3 separate regions of the Homo sapiens genome follow, and all the other regions are linked to region 3. The links are contacts of gene promoters, found by promoter capture Hi-C in blood cells and fetal thymus (Javierre and others, 2016). All regions are on one chromosome and are shown on one strand. Each heading gives the region's core, a stretch centred on a gene start or on the middle of the fragment in contact. The rest is flanking DNA. Distances are from core to core; before and after follow the strand shown.

Region 1 (4,787 bases), core at 2,288-4,787, 300 kb before region 3:
AGACTGGCTATGTTAAAGAGGAGGATGGAAGTAGAAGAAGCAGAATGTATAAAAGACCACAGGAAAAAAAGAGTAGCTTCAGGGGCATACATGCTTTCCAGTATGAGCAAAGAAAAGAGAAAGCAGGGAGGGGGAGAGAGAGAGAGAGACAGAGAGAGAGAGAGAGAGTGTGTGTGTGTGTGTGTGTGTGTTAGTTGCATGAATCTTTCAGGCAACGGGCAGTTATTATCCTTAATCAAGATAGTGCATATGCAAAATTATCTTTTGGGAACATTGTTTAATTATGAGGAATGGTTTAGAGACTAGAAGAACTGCAGACTAGGAGACCAGTTGGGAGGGCTTTGGATAAGTGGATCTAGAGCCTGGAAAGCAACATAAATGGCAATGTAGATTTGGGAGATATTAGCACATGAAGGCTAAATGGAGCCAAGGTAGTAGACAAGATTGGTCAGAGAGAGGAAAGAGTGAGAAGAGGATTGCTACAGACCATTAGGAAACACAAACAGTAAACCATTCTGCAGGGAGAGAGATGACTTTAATGAGAGCAGGATCAGACCAGGGTACAAGAGAAGAACTGGTGGAAGGTAGAGAAATCAAAGTCAAAAGTGGTCTTTCATGGAAGAATGATTTTTAAAGGAAAGAAGAGAGACAAAACAGTAATTTAAAAGAGAGTTTAGTAGAATAAAATGTTTTTATTATAGCTGTTGTTAATTTTTTGCTTGTCTTCAAGTTAAAAATATTTGAATATTCTTTAATAAAGATCCAGGAAATCAGGAGAAGCTGAAGATAAAGACAGAGAATAATTGATGAAACAAAGTCCCTGAATTGGTAGGAAAGAAAGGTAATTCAGAGAATAGATGGGGAAATTATTCTTGACGATACAGCTACATACATTCATACACATAAACACATGTATATACATGCATATGTATATATGTACACATATGAATGCATGCATGTAAGTATGCATATGTATGTTTGTGTGTGTATAAGGTTGTTTTAAAAACAATCTAATATGTTAAATATTCATACACGAGGCCCTAGGTTCATTTCCCAGCACCTCAAAAAATAACTCAAGAAACTTGTCTTATATTTAGGTAAAGTAAAATATGTTCCAGCTATGACAAAAGAAACATTGGAAAATAGGAAAGATACTGGCACCTCTTTCTCTGGGACTGGAGGAAATGAGGGGAGGATGGATGCAGAGATAAATAAATGTACAGGAAAGGAATAATATGAGGGATATGTTCCTGATAGTCCTGAAATGTGAGTTACAAAAGAGAAACATTCAGTGGAGAGAGAAAAACAGAATTTGGGCAGTGATAAAAGTCGTATATGCCAGGTGTGGTGGCTCACATATGGGAGCCACCAGCACTTTGGGAGGCCAATGCCAGCATTTTGGGAGGCCAAGGCAGCTGGATCACTTGAGGTCAGGAGTTCAAGACCAGCCTGGCCAACATGATGAAACCCCATCTCTACTAAAAATACAAAAAAAAAATTAGCTGGGCATGGTGGTGGGCGCCTGTAATCCCAGTTATTTGGGAGGCTGAGACAGGAGAATCACTTGAACCCAGGAGGCAGAGGTTGCAGTGAGCGGAGATCACGTCATTGCACTCTAGGCAGGGAGACAGAGTGAGACTCCATCTCAAAAAAAAAAAAAAAGTCGTATATTCATTGTGAGAATAGTTCAATAGGACTAAGGAGGAATCATGTGTCCTAATATGTACTAAAGACTACTTATGTGATTGTGTCATTTTTTCACATCCTGACTATGTAAGCTGAGGATAACACTAGTTAGATTTAGTTGAAGTCTGAGAATTTACAGATGCAGGGGAAACCAATGGATACTAAAAGGTAATGATCCTGGTGGAACTGATAGACATCTAGAGTAGATAGGGAAGAAAGTTCAAAAAGTTCTTACATCAGTGGCTCACAAACTTCAGCATGAATCAGAATCACCTAGAGAGCTTGCTAAAACACAGAATGTTATCCCAACTCTAGGTTTTCTCATCCGTAGGTTTGTGGTAGGGCCGAAGAATTTACAAGTTCCCTGATGGTGCTGTGGAGACCAAGCTTCAGAAGCATTGTTCTACACCTTCCTTTCTGCTCTGGATGACAGTGCCACATTTCACAGCCACAGAGGTGACTCAGGAAGTCACACGCAATTTAATAAGCTTTCCACAGAGAAAATTTAGCTTAATATACCAACAAAACAACAATTATGCTCATTTTAAAAATTAGAAAATTGCTCACACCTGTAATCCCAGCACTTTGGGAGGCCCAGGTGGGTGGATCACGAGGTCAGGAGATCGAGACCATCCTGGCTAACACGGTGAAACCCCGTCTCTACCAAAAATACAAAAAAATTAGCCGGGCGTGGTGGAGGGCGCCTGTAGTCCCAGCTCCTTGGGAGGCTGAGGCAGGAGAATGGCGTGAGCCTGGGAGGCGGAGCTTGCAGTGAGCCGAGATCGCGCCACTGCACTCCAGCCTGGGCGACAGAGCGAGACTCCGTCTCAAAAAAAAAAAAAAAAGAAAGAAAGAAAGAAAATTGTTACTCAGAGAAGACAGTGACTTGTCCAAGATCAAGCAGCCAATAGTTAACAGGGCAGACCTCTGACCCAGGTTTTTTCACACCCTCTGCGGTGTTCTTTCTAAATGCCGTAGCTACCTTAATTGCCTTCATACTTAGCGCATCTGTGCCTAGGGAAAAATGGGTGTAGGGTTGGCAGTGCCCACCACCCCCAACCCTACTCTTTCACATAATCTGCTAATCAAATTGTTGTTTAGTCCTCTTGTTGTAGGACTGCAGTCCTCTCTGTAGGGCCTGGGGCTTTTGCAGAGCTCATTACAGTTCACATGCCCAAAGAGATTGTACAGATTGGTTTTGATGTTCTACCTATCCCTGTTCTTTTCTGGACCTATGGCACTGTGCTGAGTCTGGCAATGTTTTTGAGCCCTTTAGTTTCCTGAAAAAAAATTTTTTTTTTTTTGAGACGGAGTCTCACTCTGTCGCCCAGGCTGGAGTGCAGTGGCGCGATCTCGGCTCACTGCAACCTCCGCCCTCCAAGTTCAAGTGATTCTCCTGCCTCGGCCTCCCGAGTAGCTGGGATTACAGGCGCCTGCTACCACACCCAGCTGATTTTTTGTATTTTCAGTAGAGACAGGGTTTCACCATCTTGACCAGGCTGGTCTTGAACTCCTGACCTCGTGATCCACCAGCCTCAGCCTCCCAAAGTGCTGCGATTACAGGCGTGAGCCACTGCGCCCGGCCTAGTTTCCTGAAATTCTTAAAGCTGTGTGGAGAGCTTCTGAGTAAGAACACTGAGCCTGTCTGTGGGCAGGTCCTGTAACTGTGCAGAGCCTATGTGTAATTATTTACGGAGAATATGGCTGTGTGCAGAGCCTGTGTGTGATTATCTGTAGAGATATGCCTGTGTGCAGAAGCCATAACTGTCATCGGGCCTGTAAGTATATGCAGGCCTTGTGCATATGGACACTCTACTAATGTATTCAAAAATCTGAAGCTCTTTTTTCCCTATGGCACAGGTGAGGGCGCTGCATAAAATCATGGCCCTTTTTTCTGCTAACAGCATAGGTGCTATGAACAACTCTGACACTCGCATAGCAGGCTGCTTCCTCACTGGCATCCCTGGGCTGGAGCAACTACATATCTGGCTGTCCATCCCCTTCTGCATCATGTACATCACTGCCCTGGAAGGCAATGGCATCCTAATTTGTGTCATCCTCTCCCAGGCAATCCTGCATGAGCCCATGTACATATTCTTATCTATGCTGGCCAGTGCTGATGTCTTGCTCTCTACCACCACCATGCCTAAGGCCCTGGCCAATTTGTGGCTAGGTTATAGCCTCATTTCCTTTGATGGCTGCCTCACTCAGATGTTCTTCATTCACTTCCTCTTCATTCACTCTGCTGTCCTGCTGGCCATGGCCTTTGACCGCTATGTGGCCATCTGCTCCCCCCTGCGATATGTCACAATCCTCACAAGCAAGGTCATTGGGAAGATCGTCACTGCCGCCCTGAGCCACAGCTTCATCATTATGTTTCCATCCATCTTTCTCCTTGAGCACCTGCACTATTGCCAGATCAATATCATTGCACACACATTTTGTGAGCACATGGGCATTGCCCATCTGTCCTGTTCTGATATCTCCATCAATGTCTGGTATGGGTTGGCAGCTGCTCTTCTCTCCACAGGCCTAGACATCATGCTTATTACTGTTTCCTACATCCACATCCTCCAAGCAGTCTTCCGCCTCCTTTCTCAAGATGCCCGCTCCAAGGCCCTGAGTACCTGTGGATCCCATATCTGTGTCATCCTACTCTTCTATGTCCCTGCGCTTTTTTCTGTCTTTGCCTACAGGTTTGGTGGGAGAAGCGTCCCATGCTATGTCCATATTCTCCTGGCCAGCCTCTACGTTGTCATTCCTCCTATGCTCAATCCCGTTATTTATGGAGTGAGGACTAAGCCAATACTGGAAGGGGCTAAGCAGATGTTTTCAAATCTTGCCAAAGGATCTAAATAAATGCTTTCAACTTAGTCTCAACCCTTTTCTATACCTATCAATTGTCCCGTATTTAGCCCATTCTCACCTCTACATCTTCCAATTATCCCTGTGTTATTCTCATCGATCTCCCAATTTTTTTAAATATGTCACCTATTCAAACCCACCTCTGATTTCTTTTATTGGAAATCTTTAGTAAAATCTGTCTCATTCTCTTACTCTTCCTATTGAAATGCAATCTGATTTCCCATCACCTCAAGAAA
Region 2 (4,471 bases), core at 1,825-4,324, 280 kb before region 3:
CTGGCTCTTATTGTCACTTCTGGCAGAGGTGACAGGGCAGTGAAAGAGATAAGGTCCTTTCCCTTTCGGAACTCATTATATCTTTATTTCTTTTTCTTTCTCACTGCAAATGACCCCACTGAGGTTAGAGACATTTTAATCAGTCAGTCAATAGAGACAGAAATGTGTGGTTAGGAGCATAGATGCCGCAGCCAGACTGCATGTGTTCAAATCCTGACTCTGACAGACACTGGCTGTGTGCCCGAAGACTGTTAACTTGACTTCTTTGAGCTTTAGTTTCTTCCATCTATAAGATGGACGGAGTAATATGTATATCTTAGAGTTTTGGTGAGGATTGAGTGAGACAGATTTAAACACGTAGGAGGCTGCCTGACACAAATTATGGTCATTATTACTGGCAAACTCCATGCCTAGCTTTAAAAAAATGCACAATCAAAACAATTTTTAAATTATAGGTTTCTGAAATGCAGGGGGTAGAAATTCTTTTGAAGTGGAAATTAAATTTTTTGTTTTGAAACTGATTATGTTCCAATTCAAATATTTATTGAGTCCTGTTAGATAATCAATTGCAGATAATAGGTTAAATATAACCCTACACAAAGATAAAAAAAAATGTTATTCCTAAAGTGCAAGAACTCATGCCCAACTCACTTATAAATGCAACTGCCACCTATTTTATTCCACTTTCACTAGGGCTCCCAGCTGGTGGACGGGCCCGCTCTGTCATTCCTAACTCTGAACCCCCAGCCTACACCAGCCCCAGTATCCCCTGCTGAGTCACTGATTTTTATTCTGAAAGCCATTTTGATATCGATGCAAGCTTCCATTCTAAAAGATGCTTCGTATCTAAATAGCAGGCCATTCTCTGTCCCCCTCCCTCTTCTAGCTGTTTTGCACCCTAAATTGTATCCACCTGGGAAAGAAGGTCCTTTATCTAAGGCAGTGCTTCTGAAGCCTTAATGTGCGTAAGAATCACCTAGAGAACTTTAATATTAAAGTGCAGATTCTGAATCATTCCAGGAAAGACTGAGATTCTGCATAAAGAACTCCAAGTGCTTGCAGTGTTGCTAGTTAGCAGACCTTTTTCAGGCGTCTGGTTCTGATTTAATTGGTCCCACCTGGTTGTGAATTTGGGCTCTTTCTTCTGCTAATTTGATGCACTGGGCTCTGGGACTGCAGGCTCTTCTCGTCTGCACTCCTCACAGTCAGAATGCCTTCTCTCAGCCCGTCCACACTGCTCTGGAGACTTGGCCTCAGTTGGAAACTGGCAGCCTCCCATATCTCCCTTGGGCTGCACTTAGCTGCAGTGGGCAGTCAGGGCTTGCTGGTGTGTGGGCAAGGGTCACCTATGCTAACTGTATGCTCCCCTCCTTCACAATTTCTTTCCCAAGCCTCAGCTTTGACAAGAGACCTCAACTCTTACAAATCTTTTTTCTGCTCAAGAATTTTTCTCTGTCTAAAGAGAGTATTAGATGAATATCTACAGCGCATATTAGATAGGAAAAAGACATATAATGAACTAGAAATAGAATGAAGCCACATATGTAATGTTACATACTCAAGTAGCCTCATTAAAAATAAGCGGGTGAAATTAATTTTAATACATTTCATTTAACCCAATACATGCAAAATACAATTAGGACATGTGATCAACATAAAAAAATTAATAAGATCCTTTAACTTTTTTAAACTAAATCTTCAAAATCCAATGTGTATTTTGTACCTAAAGCAACCCATTTCTGAGTAGCCACACTTCAAATGCTCAAGAGCCATATCTGGCTACATGTTTGACAACACAGTTCCATTATGCTTAGAAGATCAGAAACCAAGCTTTTAATTTTTCTTGTATTTTTTTGTTTCTGTCAGTTTATTGAGTTCTATCTAGTAAGTTACAAATTGTAAGCATACAGTTCTGTGAATTTTCACAGTTGCAGTCAGCTGTGTAACCACCACCATGATCATGATACATAAAGGGCATTTCCCTTTATGTATTCACCCTTCAAATTTCCTTATGCCCTTTGCAGTTCAAACTTTTCTCCCACTCCTGGGCCCTGGCTTCCACTGATGTACTTTCAAATACCATAGCTTTCTCTTTTCTAGGATTTCACATAAATAGCATCATACAATAACTTAAATTTGATGTTTGGGTTCTTTCACTTTGCATGCTTTTGAGATTTATCTTGTTGTATATATTAACAGTTTAATTGTTTGGTAATATGCCACTGTATGGATACACCACAGTTTGTTCATTTACCAGTTAGTGATGTCATGGATTCTTTTCAGTTTGGGACTATTACTACATTGCATTTATGAGGCAGTAGTTCTCCTTCAAGAGAATTGGGTACGCTAAATACAGTTTTGCCTGAAATGAAAGTGTGCATGTGTTTGTTGGGGAGGATGAATTGGAATTGGACTTTCAATTAAAATATAATACCAATACAATTATTATATTTATTTATTTATTTATTTATTTATTTATTTATTTTGAGACGGAGTCTCGCTCTGTCGCCCAGGCTGGAGTGCAGTGGCACGATCTCGACTCACTGCAAGCTCCACCTTCCGGGTTCACGCCATTCTCCTGCCTCAGCCTCCCGAGTAGCTGGGACTACAGGCATCCGCCACTACACCCAGCTAAATTTTTGTATTTTTAGTAGAGACAGGGTTTCACCGTGTTAGCCAGGATGGTCTCGATCTCCTGACCTTGTGATCCGCCTGCCTCAGCCTCCCAAAGTGCTGGGATTACAGGCTTGGGCCACCGCGCCCGGCCAACACAATTATTTTTTAACAGTAACACTTTGATAAGATAGCACATTTATTTCTATACTCTAGTGCCAACATCAAGGCCAACTATAAGCTCAGCAGTAAGCTATAATTTTCAATCCATTATAAAGTTAATTGATCATTTCCTGTGTTAGCTGCAGTGCTAAGGTCTGGGGCACCTGGAAGATAAATAGAGCCTCTATTGCCTCTAGAGCCTCTATTGCCTCTATTATCAAAGGCAATAGAGCCTTATAGTGCAGTGTGCTAAGTGAGATGATGTGGGTATGGTAGGAGATATTAACAAAGGAAATAATAGTGCAGTTCCCACAGGTGTGATTAATTTGGTTAAACAGACTCTCAGATGATAGGTAAATACGTCTGTAACACCAATTAGTACTACCAGTTAGATGCACAGAGTTCATTAATTTGTTAATTATATTTTGCACCCTTTATGGAGATGAGGAATATAAGGGAGTAATAAGAGCTCCAGCTCTGCAGCCTGCGTATCTGCATTCAACACCGGCCCCGCCACTTGAAAGATCTACTAAATACCAGTTTATACAACTATGAGATGAGATTTAAGGGACATTCATAATGTTGTTATGTGGAATTATTGAGTTATTATGTACAAAATAATTAAATTCTTGCTGAATACCTAATGGGCTTTCTGTAGATATTTGCTGTGAGCATCGCTGCTGCTAAGCATGGCAAAGCTGAAGAGCCAGGCTAGTACTTGCAGAAGCACCACAGAACACTAGATGGCAGCGCCAAGAACCTGTTTTCGGCTCGCTAGATCCCCCAGCAGGGCCGCTAGGAGGCTTATGCTTACATCCCATGACTTTTTCTTACCCTTATCTGAGACACTTTCTCAGGCCCTTTCTTCTAAGGGGAGTGTTGTTATTGGGAGGCAGTTTGATATACTTTTTAAATCCACCAGGTCCTCAAGATGGGGGTAAATTGGTACAATTTACAGGGCCTTGTGTTGAGGCCCACACGGACTGTTTTTTACATCAGTGTACATTTACTTTTGCTGGGAAACCAGCCAAAGACAAGTTAGAGAATTCTGCCTGCTCCCTACGCACTGTGGCCTGTTCAGAACAGCGAGGTCACGCCTGGAACCAGGGCCAGAGCTTCACATAGGCAGTGTTAGCTGGCTCTTCTTTGGTGGCCCAAACACAACTCCAGGTAGACAAGCAGAACAAATGGCTCCCAGTGAAAATAACTCAGTGCTGGAAACAGTTTTAAAAATTTTCTAAAGAGTATTCTCAGTGTGATTTTAAACAATGGTAACGTAATTTATCAACAACTCTTCCAAGAAAAATAGACAATAAAGGTCATATTTCTCAATGAAGATATAAGGTCTCAACTGCCTTACCGGCCACCTCTCCTTACATATGGACCCCCTTAGGATCCTGCTGAAGTTTAAGACAGGCCCTGGCAAAATCCCATCATCAAATAGGATCTCTCTCATTTCCATACTTCGAAAGCACTTGGTCCATGCCTGACTTTCACAGCCTTTACCACTGACTGTCTTTGGTCAAAGTTATGAGTTTGAGGACGAAGCTTTGAACTAGCACCCTGGAAAGGTTAGGTTATGCCAATTCTACAACTTACAAGGTGCATGATTGTGTAAAGTCACTTAATGTCTCTTCTTATTAAAGAATGGAGAATACTCTTATTTATGCAGAGTTGTCCATGAGGGATAAAGAAA
Region 3 (4,344 bases), core at 1,057-3,556:
AGAAGATAAAAATCATAAAAATCAAATAGAAATCCTGTAGCTGAAGAATTCAATGAATAAGTTTTCAAGTTACAATAGAGAGATTCAATAGCAGACTTGGTCAAGCAGAAGAATCTGTTGACAGGTTGTTTGAAATAAGTCAAAGAAAAACAAAAGAAGGATTTAAAAAAGTAAAGAAATAATGGTGTTCCTTAATGGGATGCCATTAAGTAAACAAATATTTGTATTATGAGAATTCTAGAAGGAGAAGAGAAAGAAAAGGACAAAGGAAACCTATTTAATAAAATAACAGCTGAAAACTTTCCAAATATGAAGAGAGATGTAGATATCCAGATCCGAAAGCTCAAAATCCCCTATGTAAATTCAACTCAAGAAGGTCCTCCCCGAGGCATTATAATGTCAAACTGTCAAAAGTCCAAGACAAAAAGTCTCTAGGCCTTTAGGCTATTTGGCATGAGGAAACAGTGAAAATAGTGGGAAAATATATCCAATCCTTCAACACTTTTCAGAAGTAATGTCCTCAGGGAACAGCTGGGTTTCTGTTTCAAAAGGAAGAGAAACAGAACATCAGAAGTGGTTTAAGGCCAAAAATAATATCACTGCTCATAAAAAATTGATTCTAGAAGTCACAGTGAAATAGTCTTGGGAATAGGAGAGGGGTAGGTACAGTGACCAATTAGGAGATATATGATTATATGATATGACCCTAACAGAACTAGAATTTTTATGTTTTAAAAATAATGTAATTCAATGCCAGAACACCTCCTACAATCAAAGCACTATACTAAGTGAACTGAAGGATAAAGTTGACTTAAACATCACTCTAATATCAATCCATAAAATAATGGAAGACAGAAAACACAAAACCAACACAAAATAAAATTTGCCTGTTATAATAGTGGCACACACTGATGTGAAAATACAAAAGACACAAAGATTATATCAGATTGATTCATATGAAAGGTCATTAAGAAGTATAGGACAATTGAGAAAGTGCTGAAGCAAAGTAGAAATGAGATGAAGTTATTTCATATGGAGGACTTTTGATTATCAAAGACAAGATGTGTGTTCGGGAGTCATGTAGTATAATGAAAGTATAAAAAGTTGATTGGGTATTGAGTGAAGGACTTTGGCAACAATGGTGTTTGCCCCTTATTACATAAAGTCTACAGTATACAATGGAGAATGTAGGGGTCATGGGAAGGAATTTTAAGCAGAAATTGGATAGAGTCAGACTTGATTTGGGAAGATAAATGTGGATACAGTAAGGAAGATGGACACAATGAGGGAGAAACAGGAACCTCAGGAGTTACTTTCTCATTAATCAAAAGAGAAGTAATGAACACAAGAACGTGGCAGATCAAACCAGAATCTCTCTTGGACCACAGACGACATTGCTGTTTCTGTGCTAACAACTCAAAATAGTCTGAACTTAGGAGGCAAAAAATACCAACTAATTGTCTAATGTACTTATTTTTCCCTCAGTCTATTTCTAACTATAGTCAGGAAAACCAGGCTCTGCAGCATGTCCTGGTAGTACTATCGGGTCTACTATGTCATCATTCAGGAAGGGAGCCTCTCAGGAAACACTACCTCTGCTCTGGCTGGAAGGGACAATATAATATGTTTTATAAGGAAAACGTAGAATTTTCTTCACTTTCTGCCAAAAGAGCTGAAACACATGAAAGCCTCTCTTCAAAGACTATCTGTTCACCATTAGTTATAGACTGAGAAGGAGAATCTTGGTGGGTTGGAAGAAAGTTGCTGCTATTATCTGCAGGCATGCACACTGCCAATAAACAGAGTTGTACCACAGAGTCTAATTTGTCTATTTGAGATGTCTTCTCCTTCATCTTTTGAAGCCTCAATTGTAACAGCTGTGAAACTACATCAGGATTTACACAAACATATTAAAACAGAAAAGTTGCTGAGAACAGTTTCATGGTCACACTGTGAAGAGTTAATGGTCCAAAATCAATGCTTTCATGGCTCCTGAGGGAAGCGGAATTAACATCATTCCCCAAACAGATTCCTCTCTCTTCAGGATAGCTCCCTTCCCATCCTTTCATAACACATCTGCTCCCCTGAGCTAAGGAGTTATATCTAGCATGGTGTTTCTCTGCAGATGCAGTGAAGAGGAATAAAGACTTACTATGACTTAATGACCCTCGAGTCCATGTTTCTGCCCAGAGGATTCCGAAGACTAGGCTCGGGGATTCTGGGACATGCCTGGTCATAGGGATGCTCTCACTCACTATAAAGTTGCCTCCACTTTACCAAGCAGGCTTGTTGCTCAGAGGCTTCAAGGGGAACCTAATCACGGTCTTTAAGAACCTGGACTCATGCTCCAATTCTGCTCCAAGTGAGGGCTGGGAGAAGAAATATTACAGAGGTAAGAATGCTTGTGCAGGAGAAGTGAAAAGATACACAGGAGAGAAGAAGAGGGCAAATGAGGATAGAGAGGCCAGATTCTTCCACTTTTCTGAGGAATTATCCTAAGCACCATTGCACCATTTTCTTCACAGAGGAACACAACAGAGCACATGGGATTGGTGAGGGCAGTGGTGTACCAATTAGTAATGCACAGAATTTCTGTCTGTGTATCTCTCTCTCTCCCCCCTTTCTCTCTGCCCCTCTCTCTTACACACACATACACTCATACACACACATTCTCACAGAGTACACTGTTCACAGCCGAAACACCACAAATACAGTCATATAGTAGCATGGCCATACTTGTTGTCAATAAGACAAAAGGATGTTATTGCAGACTTCTTTTGTATGTGTTTATTTAAGGTGGTGGGTGGGTATCACATGTCAATATTCAAATACAATTACATAGGCATTAACATATTTGGTCTGTAAAGTTTTATTCTCTGTTTCCCTCATTGTCTGAGTGAATTTAATGTTGCCAGTTGTAACTTGGTTCCCTATATCCCTACTACTTTATGGAACCATCCCCAAGCCATTTTTATTGTAAGCACAATACCCCTGCTAGATCAGCCGGACTGAACCGCCAATGGCACAGTTATGGAAGAGCCTGAATGAAGGTATTTATCCACTTTATCCATTCATCAACTGCTTTGGTCTCACCAAGATTGGGAAAGCTGTAAGAATAAGAGGAGAAAATTGTTTCTTTTCTAAATGAGCAGTATTGGGTCATATTTGTATCCATAAAAATCTAGACATAAATATTAATGTCTGACTCTGTGCCATTTCTTCACTTTGGCCTCTTCTGAGCCATTCCTCCTTTATCTAATCTTAGGCCAAACTGTGACATAATTTGGACTTTTTACAATGAAATAACTTCTTTCTGCTAACAGGTGAATTATTTTAGCTATCTTGCATTTAAATAAACAAAATATTTGGGAGCATTAATAAAATAAGTAAGTATAATTTGTTGAGGATACACTATGCACTAGCACCTATACAAACATTGGTCTTATTTATCATTAAAATAAACCACATTAGTTATAATTTATCATCTCATTTTTACAGGAGAAAAAAAAACTGATCTATCTGGTTAAAGAATCTGTCCAAGGGTCTCAAGCAAGTAAATGGTTTAGCAGGTTTTCCAGCCATGTCTGAAAAGTTTTAAGGTCCACAGAAGACTTCTGTAATATTCTACTACAGTCAGCAAAAAAATAAAAATCCAACAAAGTAAAAAAAATCACAAGTTCAAAATGTGAACTTTGGTGAGCACAATAAGAGAAAAATTGCTAATTGTTATGAATTTGTCTTTTCAGATGGACTCCAGTAGGGATCTTTGTCAATGTGCATATCTAGAGAAGAACAAACTTAATAATTTGCCCTCAAAAAATGATCTTGAGGTTATTGGCCATACACTGTCTGCTACTGTGGCATATAGTTATAACAGAAAGAAGGCAAGAATTCAGGTAAAACTGTGAGAGGGTGGATGTGCTGGCAGCTTTGAATTTTACTGTCAGAGAAGCGTCCTCTTTGCCATCTCCCTGGGAATGTTTTTCTCAGCTGGCAAAGTATCATGTTGAGACACAGCCACCCTTAAGATTGGGCTGACTCTGGACTGTAAATCTCACAACACATCATCCTAGCTATTTCCTCAGACTCTCCCAGGTGAAATCACAAAAACCACTGCCCTCTGATTTTTCAGCCTGGCATCTTTTCCTCAATACTGGCAAACATTATGTTCTTTTTTCAATTTTCTCTCAGCTTCTCGGGGACCAAGAAATGCTCTTGTTCTTCTCATACAGAATGGGGAATTATTAACTCCTTTGCTTGTGTACTTCTGCTGTAAAATAGCTACCTGGCAAAGTTACAGGACAACTGATGTATGCAGCCACGTACATAATAAAACATGATTTC

The links. Contacts are between HindIII fragments. The CHiCAGO score rates a contact against its expected background, and 5 or more counts as called.
Region 1: the fragment with the promoter of OR52B6 here is called in contact with the fragment with the promoter of OR52E4 in region 3 in 5 of 17 cell types (neutrophils, monocytes, erythroblasts and 2 more); the score reaches 7.9 in neutrophils.
Region 2: a fragment that was not itself captured here is called in contact with the fragment with the promoter of OR52E4 in region 3 in 1 of 17 cell types (megakaryocytes); the score reaches 7.3 in megakaryocytes.

What each region holds. Positions count from the first base shown.
Region 1 is chr11:5,577,340-5,582,126 of GRCh38, forward strand. It overlaps OR52B6 (olfactory receptor family 52 subfamily B member 6), which reads left to right and starts at 3,538. Exons shown (of 1, transcript NM_001005162.2): 1 at 3,538-4,545. The coding sequence starts at 3,538. The coding sequence ends at 4,545. RefSeq lists a silencer at 3,780-4,074 and an enhancer at 3,780-4,074. The HindIII fragment of the contact is 3,709 bases long and covers 2,173-4,787 here.
Region 2 is chr11:5,596,936-5,601,406 of GRCh38, forward strand. All of the region lies in intron 1 of TRIM6 (tripartite motif containing 6), which reads left to right. All of the region lies in intron 1 of TRIM6-TRIM34 (TRIM6-TRIM34 readthrough), which reads left to right. It also overlaps a transcript of TRIM5 not described here. Among named protein-coding and RNA genes, the nearest start is that of TRIM6-TRIM34, 2.5 kb to the left of the region's middle. RefSeq lists enhancers at 1-390, 3,424-3,718. The HindIII fragment of the contact is 2,493 bases long and covers 1,829-4,321 here.
Region 3 is chr11:5,878,323-5,882,666 of GRCh38, forward strand. OR52E4 (olfactory receptor family 52 subfamily E member 4) reads left to right here and starts at 2,307. Exons shown (of 2, transcript NM_001005165.2): 1 at 2,307-2,392. LOC112268071 (a long non-coding RNA gene) reads right to left here. Exons shown (of 3, transcript XR_002957231.2): 3 at 2,773-3,107. The HindIII fragment of the contact is 16,575 bases long and covers 1-4,344 here.